Linked DNA regions of Homo sapiens: region 1 is linked to region 2. The links are contacts of gene promoters, found by promoter capture Hi-C in blood cells and fetal thymus (Javierre and others, 2016). All regions are on one chromosome and are shown on one strand. Each heading gives the region's core, a stretch centred on a gene start or on the middle of the fragment in contact. The rest is flanking DNA. Distances are from core to core; before and after follow the strand shown. Region 1 overlaps ALDH1A2 (aldehyde dehydrogenase 1 family member A2). Region 2 holds the start of ALDH1A2 (aldehyde dehydrogenase 1 family member A2).

Evidence for each region. Contacts are between HindIII fragments. The CHiCAGO score rates a contact against its expected background, and 5 or more counts as called.
Region 1: a fragment that was not itself captured here is called in contact with the fragment with the promoter of ALDH1A2 in region 2 in 1 of 17 cell types (endothelial precursors); the score reaches 5.1 in endothelial precursors.

The regions. Positions count from the first base shown.
Region 1 is chr15:57,971,272-57,978,088 of GRCh38, forward strand. All of the region lies in intron 7 of ALDH1A2 (aldehyde dehydrogenase 1 family member A2), which reads right to left. Among named protein-coding and RNA genes, the nearest start is that of ALDH1A2-AS1, 91 kb to the right of the region's middle. The HindIII fragment of the contact is 1,875 bases long and covers 2,116-3,990 here.
Region 2 is chr15:58,063,471-58,070,521 of GRCh38, forward strand. ALDH1A2 (aldehyde dehydrogenase 1 family member A2) reads right to left here and starts at 2,241. Exons shown (of 13, transcript NM_003888.4): 1 at 2,064-2,241. The coding sequence starts at 2,180. It overlaps ALDH1A2-AS1 (ALDH1A2 antisense RNA 1), which reads left to right and starts at 1,755. Exons shown (of 3, transcript NR_147215.1): 1 at 1,755-2,272; 2 at 3,345-3,464. RefSeq lists enhancers at 1,259-1,778, 1,779-2,298 and a silencer at 2,907-3,096. The HindIII fragment of the contact is 8,256 bases long and covers 1-3,467 here.

The sequences.
Region 1 (6,817 bases), core at 1,803-4,302, 91 kb before region 2:
CACCTCCTCTGAGAAGGTAGCTTTCCTTCCCTACCCTCCCTACAGGGTTTGGTGTTCCTTCTCTGATCTCACAGTGCTATGTACGTAACTCTCACATTGTGCTTGTTTAATAGCTGTCTCCCCGACTACAATGACTGACTTTTAAAAAAATATGCATATGTACACAGATTTTAAGACAGGGTCTCACTCTCTTGCCAAGGTTGAACTGTAGTAGTATGATTATGGCTCACTGCATCCTTGAAATTCTGAGTTCAAGCAATCCTCCCAACTCAGCCTGAGTAGCTGGGACTACAGGCACTTGCCATCATGCCTGGCTAATTAAAAAAAAAAATTGGTACAGACAGGGTCTCACTATGTTGACCAGGTGGTCTCAAACTCTTGGCCTCAAGGGGTCCTCCTGCCTAGGCCTTGAAAGCACTGGGATGACAGGCCTGAGCCACCAGGGCCCAGACAAACTTTCAATAATTTGTTAAGTCAATAAGCCAGAATACGAAAATTGCTTGAGAGCAGTGGTGTGATCACGGCTCACTGCATCCTTCAACTCCTTGGCCCAAGCAATCCCGCCATTCAGCCCCTTGAATAACTGGGGCTACAGGTGCACACTACCAAGCCTGGCTAATTTATTTTTTATTTTTTTTTGCAAAGACTGGGGCTTGCCATCTTGCCCAGGCTGGTTTTGAACTCCTGGGCTCACACGATCTTCTGGTCTTGATCTCCCAAAGTGCTAGAATTATGGGCGTGAGCCATCGTGTCCAGCTAATGTTATTGTTGATTGAGCACCTATTCTGTCTACTTGTTTTCACAAACATTATTTTATTTAATCTTCATGACAAAACTGGGAGGCAGGAATTATTATTCTATTTTATAATTGGAAAAAAAGACAAGACAAGACTCACAGAGGTCAAGAAATGACTTGCAAACAGGCACCCACTGAGTGGCAGAGCCAGGACTGGTCTCAGAATGTGCACACCAAGCCTCAGGCTCTTCTCCCTCCTCTTCTCCAGACCTTCTCCTGGGAATTGGTTCCCCTTTGCTGTGAGTAGCATTTTGACAGTTAAATGCATCATCTACCACTAACATGTTCAACTGCCTTGTACACTTAGCCATCCTTTTGTTACATAAGACTCTATTTCAGGTAAGCTTTAAAAATCAAGGTTTTGATTGTCTTGGTCTGCTTTGATAGGAAAAAGCATGGAGTAGTCAAGCCAAAAGTACTCTATGTCCCATTAACTAGGTGAGCTAAAGGGATCAACACCTTAGGACCTGCTCAAACTCAGCCTGAGTTTTGGGGAGAAAGCTAACTGCAGAATCTTTGACTTAGCATAGTTAGAGAATAAATCATGGAATCTCATCCAGCAGGCAGAGACTATACCATACTTATTCTTCAGTCTTCAAGTTTTAAGAATTTTTTAAAAAGAGAAGTTTTATGCTAATAGTTTAAAACCTACACAACCAAAGGTTTTTCCACATGAAACTGGTTTTTTCAATATTTTCATGACATTCAAACTGGTATTTTTAAATAAAATACTGAATGATTCACGAATGGACTCACACAACCTTAGAAAAAGGCCTATTAGCTGTTTATAGCTAAAACTGTAGCAAGCCACCTCCCCTAACCTAAAATGAGGGGTGAAGCTAACTAGGAGAGAGCTGACCTGATTCATGACTCAAGCAGTAGAGATGGTGCTTGTATCATGCAACATGACATTTATCTCACTTAGGAAATAAAAGAACCCCAGCTGCGTAAATTAGAATGAGTGATAATACAGCTGTTAGCTACAAACATTTGTTTGGCACGAATCAATCTGGACTCTGCTGTAGTTTGCTTTGATGGTCTCTCCACTATCTTGCTGCTAATGATGAGATCATTGTTTGTTAACCTGAGTAAAGAAAACACTATACCAAGCAAAATGCATATTGTTTTCCTGTACTTTATTGAAGTTGTTTATTGACTTGTGTTTATAAGAGCTCTTTTATATTTATTAAATATTTACATGCACTGCTTATGTATTTAGCTGCATAAGGAGAAATTAATCCCATCTTTAATCTGAGTAAAGTTGTTGGCTTTCTAAAGGCCTTTTGCTTTAGTAAAATGGAAAGCAGCCACCTCAAATAAGCTTCTTCTTGTTAACTGTTCCAGACACTTTGTAATGTACCAATAGGTCCCATCTCCCTAAGGTAATCACAGCAGAAGCCATGTTCTAATCCATATTTAAGTGACATGTTCACTCTGGAAGAATCTATACAACTTCTCAGGTAGCCTGCAAAGTTAGAATAAATGGATAAAGAAGTAAATAACTACAGCTGAAAAGGGGTTTGGGGATTATGTGATCGTTTGATTTGCCTGTGAAAATTCTCCATCCACCACTACTAATATGGAAATTACAAATTGGCTTTTATATTCTAGACAAATGCCGCTCTCCCTTAAGTCCTTTAGTGTCTGCCAATAATGTCATTCCAGAGAAGAAACTAAGAGATAACCTAGAAGTCACGGGATTAGTTCCCCTCCAAATGAATGTAAGCCTCTCTACAGAGAGAGAAGAATCAAATGTAGATTCTGTTAGAAAGTTTAGCTGAAAACTTGCTCTATTCACACTGTAATAGGCTACTTAATATTTTAACTATTCCTAAAAGCAAAACAATTCAAAGACCCACCTTCCACCCTATTCTCTTTCCCAAATTCTCCCTTCTCTCTCTCTCTCTCAGTTCCCTATTGAATATCTCAGTATTGGAAGATTGCATAGGTAGTTGTTAATGTTTTATTTGTGAAGATAAAAAAATTCCTGTTGTTATAAAGCTATAATAGTCAAAATAATGTGATACTTGCGATGCAACAGTCACACAGATTACTGAAACAGAACAGAGAGTACAGAAATAGACCCATATAGGGCCGGGCGCAGTGGCTCATGCCTGTAACTTTGGGAGGCCAAGGCTGGTGGATCACGTGGTCAGGAGATCAAGACCATCCTGGCTAACATGGTGAAACCCCATCTCTACTAAAAATACAAAACATTAGCTGGGCAAGGTGGCGGGCGCCTGTAGTTCCAGCTACTTGGGAGGCTGAGGCAGGAGAATGGCATAAACCCGGGAGGCAGAGCTTGCAGTGAGCCAAGATCGCGCCACTGCACTCCAGCCTGGGTGACAGAGCGAGACTCCATCTCAAAAAAAAAAAAAAAAAAAAAGAAAGAAATAGACCCATATAAATATGGAAAATTTATGCTTGAAAAAAGCAAGCATCACAAAGGCAATTCAGTGGAGGCAGGGTAGTCTTTTCAAGAAATGGTGCAGGAACTATTGTCATTATCCATCTATCTAGCACTTGGATCCTTACCTCTCAACATACACAAAAGTTGAAGTAGATCATAGGCCTAAATGTAAAACACAAAACTATAAAATTTCTAGAAAAAAAGCATATGAGAAAGTCTTTGTGATCTTATGTTAGGCAAAGATTTCTTAGATACCATACCAAAAGCCTGATCTATAAAAGAAAATGTTAATAAACTGGACATCAAAATTAAAAACTTTAAGAGACACTGGGAGAAATTATTTGCAAAGCACAAAGGACTTTTATCCAGAATATACTAACAATTTTCATAATTCAACAATGAGGAAAACAAACAACGCTTGTCTCCAAAGTGTGCAAAGATTTAAAGATACTTCACCAGAGAAGATATGCTGTGGCAAATACACAAATGAAAAGACACTCAATGGTAGAGAATTGGAAATTAAAACCACATTGAGACAATGCTATATACCTATTTGAATGGCTAAAATGTAAAAGACTAACCACATCAAATGTTGGTGGGGATGTAAAGGAGTTCAAAGTCTTAAACATTGCTGGTAGGAATGTAAGATGGTATAACCGATTTGGAAAACAGTTTGGCAGTTTCCTGCCCTACCACACAATCCAGCCATTCCATTCCTAGGTATTTACCTAAGAGAAAAGGACATACATGTCCATACAAATATTTGTACATGAATGTTCATAGAAGCTTTTATTAGTCCCAAACTGAAAACAATCCAAATGTTCATCAGTGGCTGAATGGATAAACAAACATACAACAAATGGATAAATCCAAATGTTCATCATTGGCTGAATGGCTATTAAACCTGATACAGGTTGAACATCCCTTATCAAAATGTGTAGAACCAGAAGTGTTTTGGATTTGGGATATTTTTTCAGATTTTGGAATATTTGCATTATACTTACCAGTTGAGCACCCCGATCTGGAAATCCAAAATCCAAAATGCTCCAATGAGCCTTTCCTTTGAGCATGATGTTGGTGCTCAAAATGTTTCAAGTTTTGGGGGCATTCCAGATTTCAGATTTTTTGAATTCAGAATAGTTAAACTATATACCCATAAATGGACTACTACTTGGCAATAAAAAAGAACGAATTGATATGCACGACATAGACAGATCTCAAAATAACTGTGCTGAGTAAAAACAGCTAGACAAAAGAGTATATACTATATGTTGCCATTTATATAAAATTCTAGAAAATGCAGATAATCTATAGTGCCAGAAAGCCTGGGAATGTGGGGGTGGGGGTGGAGAGAGAGATAAGACAGAGAGATTACAAAGGGGCACTAGGAAACATGTGAGGGTGAGGGACATATTCATTGTGAACTCTACTGATGGTTTCACAGGTAGATGGATACACATGGCCAAGACTTATCAAATTGTACACTTTAAATAAGTGAAATCTATTGTATATCAATTATACTACAATAAAGCTGTTAATAAAGGTACATTAAACAAAAATATTACTTCATTACAGAAATTATGCCATATATCTCTTTGTTGTCCTTTGCAGACTACTGGCAGTAGTTGGTCTTTGCACAACTACTGAAAAACAAAGGAAACTACGTAACATTTTTCTGCAAAGAAATTTCTCCCTACACCAGAATTCCATTCTGGCAAACTCAGTTTGAAGGAGTGGCCACCACTCTAGGCCACAGCAAGAAATCATGAGTGAGTTCCTTAATAGGTACCAGGCATCTTCTTCCAGCACTGTATTTTTTAAAATTATACTTTGAATTCTGGGATACATGTGCAGAAAGTGGAGGTTTTTTACATGTGCCATGGTGGTTTGCTGCACCCATCAACCCATCATCTACATTAGCTATTTCTCCTAATGTTATCCCTCCCCTAGCCCGACAGGCCCCGGTGTGTGATGTTCCCCTCCCTGTGTCCATGCATCCTCATTGTTCAACTCTCACTTATGAATGAGAACATATGGTGTTTGGTTTTCTGTTTGTGTTAGTTTGCTGAGAATGATGGTTTCCAGCTTCATCCAGGTCCCTGTAAAGGACATGAACTCATCCTTTTTTATGGCTGCATGGTATTCCATGGTGTATATGTGCCACATTTTCTTTATCCAGTCTATCATCGATGGGCATCTGGGTTGGTTCCAAGTCCTTGCTATTGTGAATAGTGCTGCAATAAACATACAAGTGCATGTGTCTTTATGGAAGAATGACTTATAATCCTTTGGGTATATACCCAGTAATGCGATTGTTGGGTCAAATGGTATTTCTAGTTCTAGATCCTTGAGGAATTGCCACCATCTTCCACAATGGTTGAACTAATTTATACTCCCATCAACAGTGTAAAAGCATTCCTATTTCTCCAAATCCTCTCCAGCATCTGTTGTTTCCTGACTTTTTAATGATCGCCATTCTAACTGGTGTGAGATGGTATCTCACTGTGGTTTTGATTTGCATTTCTCTAGTGACCAGTAATGATGAGCTTTTTTTCATGTTTAACGGCCACGTCTTCTTTTGCGAAGTGTGTGTTCATATCCTTTGCCCACTTTTCGATGTTTTTTTTTTTTTCTTGTAAACTTGTTTAAGTTCCTTGTAGAGTCTGGATATTAGCCCTTTGTCAGATGAGTAGATTGCAAAAACTTTGTCCCACTCTGTAGGTTGCCTGTTCACTCTGATGATAGTTTCTTTTGCTGTGCACAAGCGGTTTAGTTTAATTAGATCCCGTTTGTCAATTTTGGCCATTGCCTTTGGTGTTCTAGTCATGAAGTCCTTGCCCATGCCTATGTCCTGAATGGTATTGCCTAGGTTTTTGTCTAGGATTTTTATGGTTTTAGTTCTTACGTTTAAGTCTTTAATCCATCTTTAGTTAATTTTTGTATAAGGTGTAAGTAAGGGGTCCAGTTACTGTTTTCTGGATATGGCTAGCCAGTTTTCCCAATTGCTTGGATTTTGTTAGGTTTGTCAAAGATCAGATGGTTGTAGATGTATGGTGTTATTTCTGAGGCCTCTGTTCTGTTCCATTGGTCTATGTATATCTGTGTTTGTACCAGTACCATGCTGTTTTTGTTACTGTAACCTTGTAGTAAAGTTTGAAGTTGGGTAGCATGATGCCTCCAGCTTTGTTCTTTTTGCTTAGGACTGTCTTGGCTATACAGGGTCTTTTTTGATTCCATATGAAATTTAAAGTCGTTTTTTCTAATTCTATGAAGAAAGTCAATGGTAGCTTGATCGGGATAGCATTGAATTTATAAATTACTTTGGGCAGTATGGCCATTTTTGTGATACCATGAGTATGGAATGTTTTTCCATTTATTGTGTCCTCTCATTTCCTTGAGGAGTGGTTTATAGTTCTCCTTGAAGAGGTCCTTCCAATCTCTTCTAAGTTTTATTCCTGAGTATTTTATTCTCTTTATAGTCATTGTGAATGGGAGTTCACTCATGACTTGGTTGTTTGTCTATTATTGGTGTATAGGAATACTTGTGATTTTTGCAATTGATTGTGTATCCTGAGACTTTACTCAAGTTGCTTATCAGCTTAAGGAGATTT
Region 2 (7,051 bases), core at 991-3,490:
CTCACTATTAATCTTATTTTTCCTTTAAGTAAAAAAATCATTACCCTGGGATACCAAAAGAGCAGCTTCTGCTCTTCACGTTTAAAAAAAAAATACTGCTTGTCCACTATGCTTGTCTTAGAAAATTTAGAAGTCTCACTAAAGAGCTGAGGAGGAAAACTGCTGGGAATGCTCACAGATACCTGATTTTACAAGTTTTTGTGGAAAGAGCTCGCCTTTAGATTAGTGTTACTCAGTGTTTATGAGGGTTGTTTGTCAAGGCAAAAATAAGGTACCTCCTCCCCACAAATTAAAGAATCAAGTTACAATCCATTATTTCATTTCTGATTGTTTTTCTTTGTATTAAGTGGGAAAGTGGATACTGGATAAAAGTTCCCCGAGCTAAAAGACTCCACATTAAAGGCTCCAATTAGCTATAAATCAGTTGTCTTTCCTACTGGGGGAGAACAAGAGAGAAAAGAGAGAGGGGGTAGTTAGGGAGTAAGAGAACTGGAAGAGCTTCCAAATTAAATTCTGAAAAACGTACCTATTGCATACCTAAAATTTCTTTCAGAGGCTGTTAGAAAAATCCCATCAAAAATAAGACTAAAATCAAACCTTCCCAAATCTGAGGGTTAGGTCTTTTCTCCTGTGTAGATCTTCCATTTTAAGACCTTTAAAAAGAGCCTGAAGAGGTTAGAGACCCTCATAAAATAAAACTTCTAAGCTGCATGCTTTCCCTGCTCGTTCCTAAACCCAGACAAGTGCCACACATTGGCACTATTGTTATGCAAACAATGCCTAAAAGGTTATAACCATTAACGACCTCTCATTAAAACGGCTTTGAAAAATTTGTCACACCATCTAAAAAAGCTAGCAGGTACATTAAATCCATCTAAATCGACATTCAAAACACAAATCGCCCTGATTTGTAACCTAAAACTCAATGCAAGTAAAATCTCAATATTCTGATGTTGTTTCTTGTATATCTCATTCAACCACTAAGCCAGATGCAAACAATTTACTTCTCTACAAAATTTATCTTGTAAAAAAGCACGATGGAATACATCTTTAATCAACCTTTAACCATATGCATGTGCGTCTATGCGTTTGCGTTAATTGGGAGAAGTTGAGTGTAGAAATGTACCGAAAGGACTAGAAAATCAAACCAGAGAACTACAAAATGAACTCCAAGAAACGTGGTTTTCAATCCCATCTCTCTCTCACCACCTCCCTCAAAATGTTGTAACATTACAATACCCCTACGTTTGTAATCGATCATTTTTTTTCTATGTCGAATTTGTGGAAAGTAAATTCATTTTATATTAGGTAGCAGACGCATATTCTTTTTTAGGCGATGCAACAACAAAAATCCTGCTTAGCAAACCCAAGATGTCAACGTTCGTTATAAAAAAAAAAAAGTAAGTTCTTCAGTTCAAAACCGAACATGCTAACAAATATTAAAACTTTTTAAGTTTCCCAGGGAAACTGCCGCTGCCTACAAAATTCACATGAAACGCTGACGTTGGAGTTACTGTACTTATCAGTCAGGTTTCCGTGAAATTTGTCAAACCGGCCAGAGCGCTGGTGTCTTGACAATTCCTTACGGGAAAGCCCCTCAGCACCCTCCGGGCTGTGGAGGACCTGATTGGGACCAACAGCCGAGGGGCCCGGAAGGCGGAGGACCGAGAGGCGACGGCCAGGCTGCGTGGCCAAGCTGACGGGGAACCCCGGCCTCCATCTGAGGATACTAAGCGGTTCCGACGCCTTCCCCCGCGGCAGTCGGGACCGGGAGAATCGGACAGAAACCAGCCTCAGAGTCCGGGGCAGGAGCCGTTGACGGCTGCCCCTCAACGCTGCGCTTCGGGTTGGGTTAAGTCCCCAAGGCGTCCTCAGACCACGGCGGGGCTTCAAACGCCCCAGTCCCGAAGACAGGCAGGGGGTCCCTCTGCTGCGCCGGGATGACAGGCTGGCCCCGACGACCCCGGCCCCGTCCCGCAGCCCTCACCCGCTGAAGAGATCGGGGAAACCGAAGAAGGTTCTAGAAAGTCTCCGTGGACGACGGGCGCTGGGCGGCCGCTTACCTTGGTGTACTTAATTTCGAGATTGGGCGTGGGCGACGGCAGGAGGTGCAGCGACGCCATGAGGGCGGCGGGGTCGGCCTTCACCTCGCCGGGCATCTCTATCTTGCTGGAAGTCATGGTGGCGGGCCGGGTGTCCCTAGCCCGCGGCGTGGGGCAGTGCGGGCTGTGCGCGCGGTCCGCGGCCCGGGGGCGCGCTCGCCTGTATATAGGCAGGTGTCAAGCTGGGGCTCTTCTTATTGGACGTGAGGGCCGAGGCGCGGGGGGCTGGTCCATCCTACCTAGGACGCCCGGCGCAGCCTCCATTTACATAAAGCCCGCGCCGCGCGGCCGGGACGCTTGGCGCCCACGGTCAAGTCCGCCCGGCGCTCCCGCCCCCCGGCCGCGGAGACCAGCCCACGCCGCCTCCACAGTCCTCGACGGTGGGAGCGGAACTTGCGCCGCGGCCCGCGGGCCTCGGCCAGCCGGACTTGGTCTCCGGGTCCCTGGGTCAGAGTCGGCGGGAGGCGCACAGCGGCCGAAGTCGAGCGAGGGTCGTGGCCCCCGGAAGCGGAGCTGGCAGGGGCTGGCGGGGACCGGAGCGGCCCGGTGCTGCTTCGGAGTAGAGAAAGGCCAGGAAAGTCCAGGCTGCGGAGGGCGGCTCCCAGCTCGCCCACGTTCCCTCCCATCCCCGTCCCAGGACCCACCGAACCCCGTCCCCCTTCCTTTCCGGAGACCCGGGAGGGCGTCCTCCGTTCTCCTCCTCCGGGCAGGGGCGCCAGGCTCTCGGCAGCTACGCCCTCTCCCCCGACCCCCCGACTCCCCTCAGCCGGGCCGAGGTGCATGGTGGCCAGAGGGTCAGGGAGAGGTGGCAGTGGGTGCGAGTCCCCCTCGCCTCGGGCTCAGAATGAGGATCCCTGCGAGCGGGTCAGCGCGGGGCGGCCCTTGCCAGGCGTCGCCCGCCCAGTTGCTGCCCTCTGCCGGCCGGGACCGCCCGGGCGGCTTGCGCTGTGGCGGGAGGATATGGGCAGTGATCATCCCCGGCTCCTCCGAGGAGCTGCATGCTTCGTGGGCTCCTTTAGTTCTTCTCGGATCCCCTCTTCCGGCTGTTTCCCCTCCTCACCCAGCACACCCACAGAAACACTATTTTGTTTTTCTGTTGTTCCTTACACGCTAAGAGCTATCGTCCCGCCAGACCTTAGGCTCATTTTACTGTCCCTTTGGGATTGAGTTTCCATCTCCCCCCTAATCTAAGTGTTTCCAAAGTCTAACAAGCTGCCCTCTAGTCTGTGGATCGGCCTGCAGGTGTAAACCAAGAACCTAGAGACCCTGCCTCAGAATGGGCTTTGGACTCCGTGGACTAAATCAAGGCCGCATGGAAAGACCTGCATAAGTCCCTTCCCTTCCTTACTCCTCACTCCAAATGTAAGCTTGACAGGGGCCTACAGTGTTGATAAACGCTTTTTCTACACTACCAAGCAACACTGTGATTCTCGTCTTTTTGTTTTGTTTGAAGAGACAGGGTCTCACTCCTTCACTCAGGCTGGAATGCAGTGGCACCGTGACAGCTCACTGTGATCTTGAACTGGGCTCAAGTGACCCTACCACCTCAGCCTCCCAAAGTGCTAGGATTATAGGCATGAGCCACTGCACCCGGCCTGATTCTCATCTTAAATGCCATTTTTAGAGCCGCTGGAGTCCCATTTCTTGGGCGTTAAGAAAACATTAAGCATCAGCCAGAAAACATCTTTCCTTAGATACTTTGAGTAACTAAAACTGCCTAATGCTCAGCGCTCAGATGCTAAGCAATAGTGAAAACAGACAAAAATATTTCATTTTAGTATTAGGTTTATAGAAATAAGTTCCAGCCTCTCAGAACCCAAAGTGACCTGGGTGAATCGTTTTCATGGAGAAACTACAGACCTTAGCTTGGGCAGTCGAGGGATCTGTACTCAGGGAATTTCTATGGCCAAAAATTATGACTTAATAACAGTGTATGCTCATAAGATATACTTTTATCAAAGCCTTAGAAGGTTAGAGATACAATTGAGAAATAAAAAAGTAAAATCTTAGAGTTCATTGGGGAGAAAGAGAGGGTTCCAGCAAGGGGGAACAGTGATACCTGTGGAAAAACTTATCACTAGTTATGAGAGGCTGTGGGGAAAACATGAAAAAGAGCCATAACAACATGAGCTGAGTGCTCCAAGGAGGACGCCTACTCCCTGGGAAAGCTGACCTTTGGCTGGGTCTTAAGGGAGAAGGGAGGCTTCAACAAGAGCAAAAAGAACACTATAGAAAAGGTATAGAGGCTGGGCACGGTGGCTCATGCCTGTAATCCCAGCAGTTTGGGAGGCCGAGGCGGGTGGATCACTTGAGGTCAGGAGTTCAAGACCAGCCTAACCAACATGGTGAAACCCCATCTCTACTAAAAATACAAAAATTAGCTGGGCCTGGTGGCAGGTGCGTGTAATTCTAACTACTCGGGAGGCTAAGGCAGGAGAATCGCTTGAACCCAGGAGGTGGAGGTTGTAGTGAGAGGAGATCTTGCACTCCAGCCTGTCTCCCTTGTGCCTTCCTCAGTTCCTAAAACAGCGTAGAACACATAATAACTATTTAATAAGAATTTTTGTTGGTTGATTTGAGCAAAAGACAGAGCACTTTTGACAACTTCCACCGTAAGTGAAAGTAACTTCCTTCACTGCCTGATTAAAGAACATTTTCTCCTCTTGATCTTAAACTTCGTTTTGCTTTTCCCCATCGGTGTTTTTTTGTTTTTTTGTGTTTTTTTTTTGAGACAGAGTCTCGCACTGTCATCCAGGCTGGAGTGCAATGGTGTGATCTCGGCTCACTGCAACCTCCGCCTCCCAGGTTCCAGCGATTCTCCTGCCTCAGCCTCCCGAGTAGCTGGGATTACAGGCATCTGCCACCACACCCAGCTAATTTTTTGTGTTTTGGATAGAGACAGGATTTCCCTATGTCAGCCAGGCTGATCTCGAATGCCTGACCTCATGATTCACCCACCTCGGCCTCCCAAAGTGCTGGGATTACAGGTGTCAGCCACTGTATCTGGCCAAAAAAGATATATATTTTGTCTATATTCAGCTCGTGACAGCAGCCACTTTTTGTTCAAGCCCCCTTTTTTGTTTTTTTGAGACTGTCACCAAGGCTGGAGTGCAATGGCATGATCACGGCTCACTGCAACCTCTGCCTCCTGGGTTCAAGCGATTCTCCTGCTTCTGCCTCCTGAATGGCTAGGATTACAGGCACTCACCACCATGCCTAGCTAATTTTTGTATTTTTAGTGGAGATGGAGTTTCACCATGTTGGCCAGACTGGTCTCGAACTCTTGACCTTAACTGATCCACCCTCCTCGGACTCCCAAAGTGCTGGGATTACAGGCATGAGCCACCATGCCCGGCTGTTGTTCAAGCTTTTTAAATCAAGGTAGGGACAAGATGTAGCGGAAAAGAACAGTGAATTATAAATGCTTCTTTGGTGTTCATCTTCTTGGTTTCAGTTTGTAAGATTTACAAGGCTATTACTTCCAAGGCTGCCTTAACACCTCTTCTCACATTCTTATTTCCTCTTCTCTTTCTTTTATCATCTAGTTTTAGTGTTTTCTCATATCCTCTACAGATTTCACAATAGTTAAGAAGACAGTCTTTGGCCAGATGCGGTGGTTTACACCCGTAATTAGGCCAAGGTGGGAGGATTGCTTGAGGCTAGGAGTTCAAGACCAGTCTGGACAACATAGCAAGACCCTGCCTCTACCAAAAAAAAAAAAAAAGTATCCAGGCGTGGTGGTGCATTCCTATAGCCCTAGCTACTCAGGAGGCTGAAAGAGGAGAATCGCTTGAAGCAGGAGTTCAAGGTTATGGTGAGCTATGATCACGCTACTGCACTCCAGCCTGGGTGATGGAGTGAGACCCTGTCTCTAAAAATAAAAAGACAGTCAACTACCTTCAGATTTCTAACAATTTGAATTTCAGCCTTTTCCCCCCAATTTGGCTAAGAAACTGTTTTTTTCCCACCTTTACAGTGTTTCTCCTCCCACCCCCCCCATTCTGTAATTATTTATTGCTTAGGATACATCTTGTTTGAAACCCCTTGCATAAGGGAACCTAAGCTGCAGCATGCTGTATTTATTTCCTTATGAAAACAATTTATTAGGCCTGGTGGAGCCAATATCCTGGAGTTGCAGAGGAGAAAAATAAATTCTTGCCTCATATTTCCTCACCTAAATAATAGAATGCAAAGCTGTAATTTTAAGGCATCAGCTTTATGTGAAGTTTGACTTTAAGTTATGAAACCATAACAGTTTAGGTTTCTTGTTAGCTGCAGTTAAGGGGAGGAAAGTATTTGTTAAGTTGAGAACTAGTCTTTAGAAATCAATGAAGGGAACTAAATGCAGCTCAAAGATCCCTCTCAAAGAAGATGCACTTGATTTTGACAGTAACCGAATGTCCAGCTTGAATGTCAAGTTTCTATGTTTAGGGGCTGTTTCAGCCTCAGGTGGCCCTGCTTAATTGCTTTCCTGTTCCCATTACTAACCATGATGACAGCCTACCTTTCCTAACAGATACACTTGCATTTTAATTTATCTTCAAAAATAAATCACACATTATAGCATTCCCCTCTTCTGGGCTAATTGAATCAGTTCCTTAAATGTCTCTACATCTAATGATTTGAAAGAGGCACATTGTTTGAAATATTTAAAAAATTAGGGCCCTCAGGTTGTATGCAGAATGATCTCAGTGCTTATTTCAGATATAAGTGTTTCCTAATGATCTCATTCATCTCAAATGGGATATGCCTGGCCACTTTATTTGAAATGTTTCCTGAAAACTCTAACAGGAAAGCTTAATGCAAAATATATTTATAGAGAAATGGTATTTAATTTATTAACAAAAGCTTATAAAGAGCTTTACATATTTTTATCCAGAAATGCTTAATGAAGTATTTGGGACCCATTATGAAAACTTCTATAAAATAAATCCACTTATATTTTTATT